Regions from separate parts of the Homo sapiens genome. Here region 2 is linked to region 1. Evidence: promoter capture Hi-C in 16 types of primary human blood cells and fetal thymus (Javierre and others, 2016). All regions are on one chromosome and are shown on one strand. Each heading gives the region's core, a stretch centred on a gene start or on the middle of the fragment in contact. The rest is flanking DNA. Distances are from core to core; before and after follow the strand shown.

The links. Contacts are between HindIII fragments. The CHiCAGO score rates a contact against its expected background, and 5 or more counts as called.
Region 2: a fragment that was not itself captured here is called in contact with the fragment with the promoter of ANP32B in region 1 in 2 of 17 cell types (activated CD4 T cells and non-activated CD4 T cells); the score reaches 5.6 in activated CD4 T cells.

The regions. Positions count from the first base shown.
Region 1 is chr9:97,982,054-97,986,985 of GRCh38, reverse strand. It overlaps ANP32B (acidic nuclear phosphoprotein 32 family member B), which reads right to left and starts at 3,645. Exons shown (of 7, transcript NM_006401.3): 1 at 3,377-3,645. The coding sequence starts at 3,430. It overlaps LOC124902226 (a long non-coding RNA gene), which reads left to right. Exons shown (of 3, transcript XR_007061686.1): 2 at 171-340. It overlaps LOC124902225 (a long non-coding RNA gene), which reads right to left and starts at 1,550. Exons shown (of 2, transcript XR_007061685.1): 1 at 1,465-1,550. RefSeq lists silencers at 2,316-2,545, 2,576-2,625, 2,636-2,835, 2,906-2,985, 3,176-3,265 and 2 more and an enhancer at 2,893-3,775. The HindIII fragment of the contact is 9,132 bases long and covers 1-4,049 here.
Region 2 is chr9:98,201,342-98,206,010 of GRCh38, reverse strand. It overlaps TBC1D2 (TBC1 domain family member 2), which reads left to right. Exons shown (of 13, transcript NM_001267571.2): 10 at 2,603-2,723; 11 at 4,347-4,532. Among named protein-coding and RNA genes, the nearest start is that of CORO2A, 11 kb to the right of the region's middle. RefSeq lists enhancers at 2,657-3,157, 3,781-4,280, 4,586-4,635, 4,281-4,669. The HindIII fragment of the contact is 4,410 bases long and covers 1-3,960 here.

The DNA.
Region 1 (4,932 bases), core at 2,396-4,895:
CAAACCCCAGTAATTAAAAAAAAGCCATATACACAATAAAAGCCCATCTGGTCTTAAACGTAAGAACATATTTACAATTAAACCCCTATTCGCCCTCTTCAAACACCCTTAAATCTCACTTGACTTTAAAATCATTAAGGTCAACCATGGGACACTGCTGTATATTTCAGGGCATCCTGTTCATACAACAACAGTATACCTTCAACAAGGGAAACGATTCTTCATGTTACCCCACACGACAAGTCTGCAGGATCCCAGAGGCCAAGCCTACTGTGTAACAGCTGACAATGCCATCAATTTCTGTGGTGTTTATGGCATGTTCCAGCACATCACACATAAGGTATCATGTGACTAGCTGAATGTGATTTTAAGAGAGTGATCTCCAAACTTTTCATTTGCCTTAAGGATGACGCCTCTGTGCGAAAACACTTTAAACTCTCTTTTAGAATTTCCTTCAAAATCTACAGCATTTTTTCCTGAAAAACCCTTCACTTTTAGGTCAAAGTTTTATTCGCCCAACTGGGTACCTAACTCCCACTGGTCTCAGTCTCCCTAAGGGAACCTTCCTCTACCCCCACAATCTTAGCTGGCTCCCACAACACTCTCTCAAGGCCTCATCAACTCTCCCAAGTGCAAAAAGCACCACACCACCTCAATGGTTTCTCAGGCTTAAAATGTTTACTTAATAAACCAGTGGATTCTGCAGGCCAGTGCTGCCTAACGCAGCACCCACGAGCCACTTGTCACGTCTGAGCACTTGAAATGTGGATAGTATTACAGAGAAAATGTTTTAATTTAACTGAATTAAATGGCTCTGGCCTGACTGGCAAGAAGGTTAAGCTGATTACTTGAAAAATGAACTGGTGGCCGGGGGCGGTGGCTCACGCCTGTAATCCCAGCACTTTGGGAGGCCGAGGCGGGTGGATCACCCGAGGTCAGGAGTTGGAGACCAGCCTGAACAACAGGGAGAAACCCCGCCTCTACTAAAAATACAAAATTAGCCGAGCATGGTGGCGCATGCCTGTAATCCCAGCTACGCGGGAGGTTGAGGCAGGAGAATCGCTTGAACCCGGTAAGCGGAGGCTGAGGTGAGCCGAGATAGTGCCATTGCACTCCAGCCTGGGCAAGAGAGAGACTCAGTCTCAAAAAAAAAAGAAAAACAGAAAAAAGAAAAATGAACACCTGTAGATATACATGTGTTTTTAAAGCAATATTACTTCATATATGAAAACATCCTCTAAGGGGAACAGCAGACCAACTGTGTTTCCCAGAGGGAACACTACTCTTGAGAATTTTAAAAGACCTTTAGTTTGAGCATATCCTAAAGAATTCAAATTCTAGATTTTAACGCATTTCTGAAGACCCACGTGTGTACTTCTCTTGCGGGCACTTTGGCTAATTTTAGCTACTCCATATTCTACGGATTTGCAATTACGCCGCAATGGAAAAGTCTGGAATAAACACCTTCTCAAGCCAAGAAAGCCTCTCAAGTTTTGAGGCGCGAGCTGGGCGATAGGCTAGCACGTGGCGGGCACAAAATGTCTGACGGAAGGTCGGAAGAACGCACGCCCGCGACCCTCCATCTCGCAACCCCCGGAGCGGCCCACCCTCGCGGGCCCTCCGGGAAGGACAGCGCCGTGCGGTGGAGCCCGGCCCGCCCCGCGTTAGTGGTGACCTCAAAGACTAGAGAGCAAGGATTTAAAATGTCGAGCACACCAGGTAAACCCTGGTCGACGAATTCCCACAAGTTCGCGACTTGTTAACCACAGCCACCTGAGGGCACGAAACCTGGCCGCTCGCTTAGCCCAGAGCGGGTCGGGAGGCCCCGCGGGGCCGCCCTCCGCGGGAAAGCCACTGGCCCGCTGGGGCACCCGGCCGCGGCGCTAACTGGCCCGCGCCGGTCCGCGGCGGGGGGGGGGCTCGCGACGGCGGGCAGCCGCGCTAAACCCGGGAGACGAATGGGGCAATTCCCACAGGTCGGACCCACGCCCACGCAGCCGCGCCGCAAGAGGGCCGCCCTCAGGCCCCTACAGCCCGCAAGGCGCGCGGCCGACCGCACCAGGCCGCTCTCAAGCACGTGGGAGGCCAGAGGCCGCCCGGCCCACGAGCCGAGCCGAAGCCCGCCCAAAATCCCGCGCGCCCGGCGCGGGGCGGGGGCGGCCGCCTGCCGTTGCCCTTTTAAGAAGGGGGAGGGGGTCGGCAGCGCGCCCGCGACGGGATGAGTCGGCGGCGGCCGCGGCGCGCGGCTCCCGCCAGTGGGAGCCAAGCCCCGGCGGGGCGGGGGGAAACAGACCGAGGGCTCGGCGCGGGAAGAGGCGGCCGCCAGCCAGCGCCGAGGGCGGGCGGGCAAGGCCAAGCTCGTGGGCCGGCTCACCAGGCGCAGGGAGACGGGCACCCGCCAACATGGCGCTGCGGCGGCCTGTGGCGCGCCCCGGCTGGCGTGAAGAGCCGCCGCCCGCCCACACGGAGGGGCCAGCCTCCCGGGGCAAGGGCAGGGGCCCCGGGCGCCGCCGCCGCGGCACAGGGGGAAGGGCGAGGCCGTCGCCACAACGGTTGGCCTTGGTCGACCCGGGCTGCCCCTGGGAGGCAGGAGTGGGCAAGGCCGAGGGCGAAGAGGGAGCGAGAGAACGGGGGAGAAAGTTTTATTTTTGGGCTTGAAAAATGGCGGGAACCACGTCCTTTTTTCAAACTTGGCCTCGGGAGGGGCGGCGGTTGCGCCACCTCCGCCGCCCTGGCCCGCCCCTCCCCCGCTCCGCGCGCCGGGCCGCGCCCGCCCAGGCCTCCAGGCGCCCGAGGGGGCTTCTCGCTCCCTTCAAAAGAAAAAAGCCCCCTCCTCGCCCCACGACTGCTGACCTCGGCCGGGCCGGCGCCCACGGCGAGCTCCGGCCACAAGAGCCCCCGTCCCGCCCCACCCGCGCCCCTTCCCCGGCCGGCCCGGGGCGCGCGGAGCCCGGCCTGGCCCAGGCGGGGATGGCCGCGCAGCTCCTCGGCAGGCCGGGCCTCCGCCCGGCCGCGCATCCCGGGAGGCTGCAAACATGGCTCCCAGCGTTACACAACCCCCGCCTCCCTCTCTCGCCGCCGGCCACTTGCACACGCGCTCCCTCAGGGGAAAGACCCCGGCGGGCGAAGCGCTCAAAGTTTGCTTTCCCCCACACCGCTGCCTCCCCCCGGCCGCCCCAGGGGCCCGCGGGCGGCAAAGAGTTAATCCTCGCGCGCTCGCTCCCCCCTCCGCGCCCGCCCGCCTTCCCCGTCCGAGCCCACGAGCTGCGCTCTTCCCCGCGCCGGGGCCGGCGAACCCTCAGCCCGGGCCCCGCAGGTGGCCACCATTACATGCAAGTCATCGGGGGAGAGGGCACCCAGAGGGGTCTCTGCTTACAGCTGCCGGGGTCCGGTTCCTCAGCTCCAGGTGGATCCTCCTCTTCATGTCCATGTTCCCCTCTTCCCCCCTCTTCAAACTTAACTTTCCGCGGCGGGGGCGGAGGGGGGAGAGGCGTCCCGGCTTGCGCAGCGAGGGCCGTCGGAAGGGTTTGCTAGCGGCGGAGGCCGGCGGCGCGGTCCTGGGTGGCGGGCGGCGTGCGGGCAGGCGAGCGGAGCCCCCGGAGCCAAGTTACTCACGGGAGCGGAGAGAAACCATGGAGGGAAAAGGGGGCTGGAGCGCAGCGCTGGGCTCACTACCGCCGCCCCCGGCCGCGGCCTGCACTGCGCTTAAACCGGCGACGCGGCGCGGCAGCTGCTCGGCTCCACTCGGCCCCGCGCGGCGCTGCTCGGCTCGGCGGCCGCGGCTGCACCAAGGCGGGGCGGGGAGACTCGCGGCGGGCGGGGCGGAGGCTGGGGAAAGGCGCAGCCCGAATAGAGGAGCGACTTCCTCCCTCTCTCCGATTGCACGTGGGGCGGCTGATGTAAGACCTTTCTCGTGGGTGGGGGGGCTTCCCCGCCCCCCGGCCCCCGCCGCGCTGAGACTCCTTCTACCTCCGGCCCCACGTCGTCGCGCCCGGAGCTGGGCTTGCGGCCCGGGCTGGGAGGTTCGCGGGAAGGGTTGGTGGGAAGCTTTGCAGTCCGGCTGCGGGGGTCCCTAAAACCCAGTCCATCCGGGGAGGCTCACGGGGGCGGCCCGACGCCCGCGGAGGCGCGAGATGTGAAGAAGCCGGGGACAGGCTTTGACGTTCACCTTTTGCCTGCCACACAGTCTGGGGCCAACAGGCCGAACCCCGCTGCCTCCTTGGCAGACTGGCGTCCGTAGTGCCGCCGAGGATCCCCCCCGTCGGGACGGAATCGCGGCCGACCGGCCCTGGCAGGGCAGCTGGGGTCGCTTGCTAAGCCACAGAGCAGCCGAGCATCCCCACCCTGTTCAGGAGAGTCTCCCTCGGTTTTCTAACATTTTAATAGGAGCTAGAGAAGGAAACGATTAGCATTTCTAATAGGGCCTCAGGGTTTCCCCGCAGACTTTTTTTTTTAATCTCATTTATTCCTTAGGGCACCCCTGTGAAGTGTGTAAATTCTTGGTGGTCTAAGTTTCGCTGAAACCTGGCAGGCAGCCTTTGTCATGGTCTGGCCCAAAGGGTCCCAGGGGTTAGAGCACCAGATCGGGATGAGTGTTGTGCTTTGCAGAACACCGGGGAATGACGTTATATTCAGCGTACAATAAGTAAATACATAATGTGTCAAATCAAATACAATCTAAGAAGATCGTACTGACAAGAAGCACCAAAAACTAAGAACAATTTGTTAAAGAAAAACTTGAAATTCTATGTATTAACATGAAGTTTTATGGAAGTTAAGAAAGTGCCCCCTTTCCTATTTTACCTAAGTTTTAGTGGCAAACAACCCAAATTTAGTTGTAAACCAATTATATATCAGCTTTTAAAATACTGAGTGAGTTAACATTTGAAGATGAAAGTTTTAGAAGGAATATGGGAAAAGAAAAACTTTCTG
Region 2 (4,669 bases), core at 506-3,005, 220 kb before region 1:
CTCGAAAAAAGAGAAAGTTACTTATAATAGAAAGCCTGTTCAAATGTGGCAAGTGCAACGTATTCTTTTGGAGGCTCTAAACCCAAGCCTGCAGGTCCCTGATACGTCTTCTTTGCCATCTAGTGGTAGCCATTAGAACTGCATGTGTGGGCCCGGCGCCGTGGCTCACGCCTGTAATTCCCGCATTTTGAGGGGCCGAGGTGGGTGGATCCCTTGAGCCCAGGAGTTTGAGACAGCCTGGACAACATGGCAAAGCCCTGTCAAAAAATACAAAAAATTAAAAAAACGAAAAACAAGAAACAACCTAACAACCTAGCCAAGTGTGGTGGCACATGCCTGTAGTTCTAGCTACTCGGGAGGCTGAGGTGATAAGGAGGCAGAGGTTGCAGTGAGCCATGATCATGCCACTGCACTCTAGCCTGGGCAACAGAGTGAGTCTCTGTCTCAAAAAAAGAAAAGAAAAGGAACTGCATGTTTGATGTCTCAAGATGACAGACCCTGCCTCTAAGGCAACAAATCCAGCTTGTTTAGTGATGGTCTAATGCTAATTTAGAGCAAATGTTTTAAACCTATGAAAATAAGTACAGTGCTCTAAAAGTGGTTTGTTTTTCCCCCATCAACACACTCCTTTCTTTGCAAGCCTACCTGGGCCCTAAATGCCTTAGGTTCGAATTCAGCCATACACCTGAGCAGTTAGTAAGCCCTAGCAACCAGCCTCAGATAACTGAGTTTTTAACATGTGCTGAAGTCTAAACCAATGCTGGCAGCTAACTCCCTAGACTGAGGCCATTCTGAGGCTCAGGGGGAACAGGGTGGGATAGAGTGGAGAGAGCACTGGGCTAGACTTTGGGAGCCCTGGGTTCTGTTTCCACTCTGCCACCAACTGACTATGTAATGTTGAGCAGGTAACTTCTGCTTTCTAAGCCTTGGTTTTTCCACCACTGCAATAAGGAGTTTGTTTAGACCAGAGATGACCAGTAGGAAGCAGCTACCTGGAGCCCTGTCCTGAGAGAGTTTCTGAGGCAGCCTTCAGACTCAGTGGGAAAGAGTACTGTGATCAATTACTTATGTCTACCATGGGCTTAGACAAAGGGAATGCTGCCATGATCAGTTAGTTATGTCTGCCCTGGGCACAGACGAAAAGGATAGAGGCCAGTGTATCTCACGTTTGCTATCCTTGAACTCAGTGACCTATGGAGGTCCCTCCCCACCAGCTCTGAGAGAACGGAGCTTCCTATTTCCCAGGAGACCTGTGACTGTTCTCTTCATCCACTCAGCTTCGACTTAGGAAGGTTTTGTACAAATATCTGAACCAAATTTGGGAGAAATTCCTTCCCAATCTACTGGGGAAAGAGAAGGGATATTTCTTTTTTCTTTTGAGATTCAACCATGTTTCTAAGAGTTGTGAGCCTCAAAAGAAGGTGGAGGTCATGAATCCAATCTAGAGAGAACCCAAAGAAGCATAAATATCTGGATGAGGGAATGTGTTCCTTAAATGCTCGTTATGACCAGAGAGTCAGAGGCTTTCTAAAGCGACATCTCTCCAGGGTCCTCTGAGGAACATTCATTCTACTAGGCCCCCATGGGTGCAATGGACAACAGGGGCTCTGTGGACCCCCTGGGCGACCCTGGGTTAGAGTCAGCCACACAGCGTTTTGTCACCACAGGACTTCTCAGAGGCTTTACTAAGACAGTGTGTGTCATAAGCCTCTCAGGGGCTAGAATGGGCAGCATTCCCCAGATATCTTTGAATATAGAACCTTGTGTTCACCTAGCATCTTGGGAGACCAGTAGTCCCTGGAAGACATTTTTGGAAAATGACTTCTTGGATTGGCCCGGGATGAGAGCTGCCAGGGAAGATGGGAGAAGTAGAGAAAACAGTACTTATCCCAGGAAGACTTCCCTGCTCAGCCCTGTGGGTTTTTGTTTGTTTCTTACCCATGATTTCATTAGAGCCTTATGCTAACTTGGCGGGGAGGGGAAGTAAAGGAGAAAAAAAGCTATGTGCATTGAGCACCTCCTAAATGCCAGGCAGTGAGCGAGGCAAGGTAGGTCTGTCTCAAGATGCCTCTTGGCCCCGGGGGGATAGATATTGTTAATCTCACTTTACAGATCATGAAACCAAGGCCCAGAGAGGTTAGTGTACTTGCCAAGGTCTCAAAGCCTGTGAATACTAAGGTGAGGATAGCTAACATTTATAAAGAGCTCACTGTGTGGCAGGCACTGTGTGGGGCACTGAATGAGCTCTGTTCATCCTCAAAATAGTCCTGTGATTATTATGAGACTGAGGCTTACAGGGGTTCAGTAACTTGCCCAAGGTCACCCAGGAAGCCACAAGATCAGGATTTACCCAAGCAGCCTGATTTCAGAGCCCCTGCTCTGAAGTGACCCCCATTGCTCTGGAAATCGCCGGTCATCCTCCCCAAAAGAGCGTTTATCTCACCCCAGGTGCCAGGAGCACAAATCTGGTTAGGGAGTGGGATTGCACTGATGCTCACATGGAAGGACTTTCCCCCTGGAACCCAGGAAGCCACCTCTGCCATGTGCTGCCTGGCAGGGCCACGGCTTCTGTAATCACTCCAGGCCTTCCCTACTACTCCAGGCTGGCGGCCATTGCCCTGCTGGTCCTAGAGGAGGAGGAGAGCGCCTTCTGGTGCCTGGTGGCCATTGTGGAGACCATCATGCCCGCTGATTACTACTGCAACACGCTGACGGCATCCCAGGTAAGTGGGGCCAGGAGGGGACTTTGCAGCCATGTAGGGCAGTGCCCCAGAGCTGTTCCTAGAAGCCTGTGACTCTCAGGAAAGTTGGGAATCTCTCGGGCTTCCATTTCTCCCTCTGCACTGTGGGAGTGCATTTGGCTGCATGGAAGAGAAGCCCAACCTAACAACAGCTTCAATCGGGGATTATTATTCTCAGATAGTGAATGACAAGGCAGTACCGCAGGGTTCAGGCTCCTAGCTCCCTGCTCTGCCATCTCTGGCAGGTGGCCTTCATCCTCACACCCATCACCTCCTGGTCACAAAATGGCTGCATCGCCTCCAGCACTGTGGGCATGGCCTAGGCCAGGAGAAGCAGAAGGTGAACACCAGGAGCTGGCTCCCTGACCCAGCAATTTCTACTTGCAGTTTACTGGTCAGAACTATTTCATGGCTGCCCTAGTTGCAAGGCAAGTTAGGAAATGTACATATTTAATTTTTACATCTTAACATCTCTGAAATTGATGTGTGTTATATGACCCTTTTTTCCATATTTTATTATGGAAAATTTCCCACATTCAAAACGATAGAGGGAATAGTATAATGAACCTCCATGTGTCCATTACCTGGCTTCAGTTATCAACCCAGGGAGCCAGTGTTATTTCTTCTGAACTCCCATCCGCTCCTCCTGCTTTGTCTTGAAGTAAATTTCTGGCATTGTATCAGTTCATCCATAAATCCTTCAGTAGGTCAATGGCATCTTAGACTTGGGGAGTTACCTTAGGTTTTGAACTGGACACTTGGCCTCGGTAGATGACCCAAGGTTCTGGGTGAGGGAGGAGGGGAGCTACTGGCTGTTTGCCACAGCTGACGCTAATGCCTGGAAGAGGACATAAGTGAGAGGAGAGGACTGAGCAGTTCCAGGAAAAGCAAGGGGAAACTGAAATGGAGTCATCACAGAGGGAGGAGGAGAACCACGAAAGAACCATGTCTTGGAGCCAGTGCTGAGAGTGGTTAACCCATCCAGTGAAACAAGGACGGAGGCATGACAGTGGTCACAAGAAGAGGTCACTGGCCAGTGTCGCCAGGAGCACCCTGTTTTGAGAAGATTCCTTGATGTCCGGCGAGGCAGGACATTATGCGTTCCCACACACACCTGTCCCTGGACCAGACATCCGCCTAGCATCTTAGGTGTCAGGCACAAATTGGGTATAGAGAAGGGGCTGTGGTTGTCAGCTGATATAAGCCTAGAGACAAAGCTTCCATTTCGCCAAGGCCCCTGGGCATGAGACCAGTGTCTCTGAACTGCCAGCAGGATCAGCTGGCCCCTGACCTCCTGCTTGGCTCAAGGGATTCAGATGGGTGAGCGGGCGGAGAACGTGCCAGCCCACATGGCTCCACTGCAGAGCCCAGTGCCCCAGTCCAGAGGACTCTGGCCTATATTAGGAGCAGCGGAGTGATATGATGCTGTACCTGACTCCCAGCTAGACTGGCCCCTGGCTCCCCGAGGTGTCTCCTGGGCAGGAAAGGACCTGCCCAGAGCAGCTTCAGGATTGTGTGTGGACTGACTGGGTAGGAAGGCTGGGCAGGGAGGGAGGCAGCCCTACGCTGGGGCTGCAGATGACAGGCCCTCTCGCTGGCTTCCAGGTGGACCAGCGGGTGCTCCAGGACCTGCTCTCGGAGAAGCTGCCCAGGCTGATGGCCCATCTGGGGCAGCACCACGTGGATCTCTCCCTCGTCACCTTCAACTGGTTCCTCGTGGTCTTTGCGGACAGTCTCATTAGCAACATCCTCCTTCGGGTCTGGGATGCCTTCCTGTACGAGGGGACGAAGGTAGGGTGCAGCCAGGGGATGGGCAGGGGGCCCCTGAGCAAGTCCCTTCACCCATCTGCGTCTTGACTCTGCCCCTGGAGAATGGGAAGACAATGCTTACTTGTCAGAGCTGTTGAACGTCTCCTGAGAGCATTGTC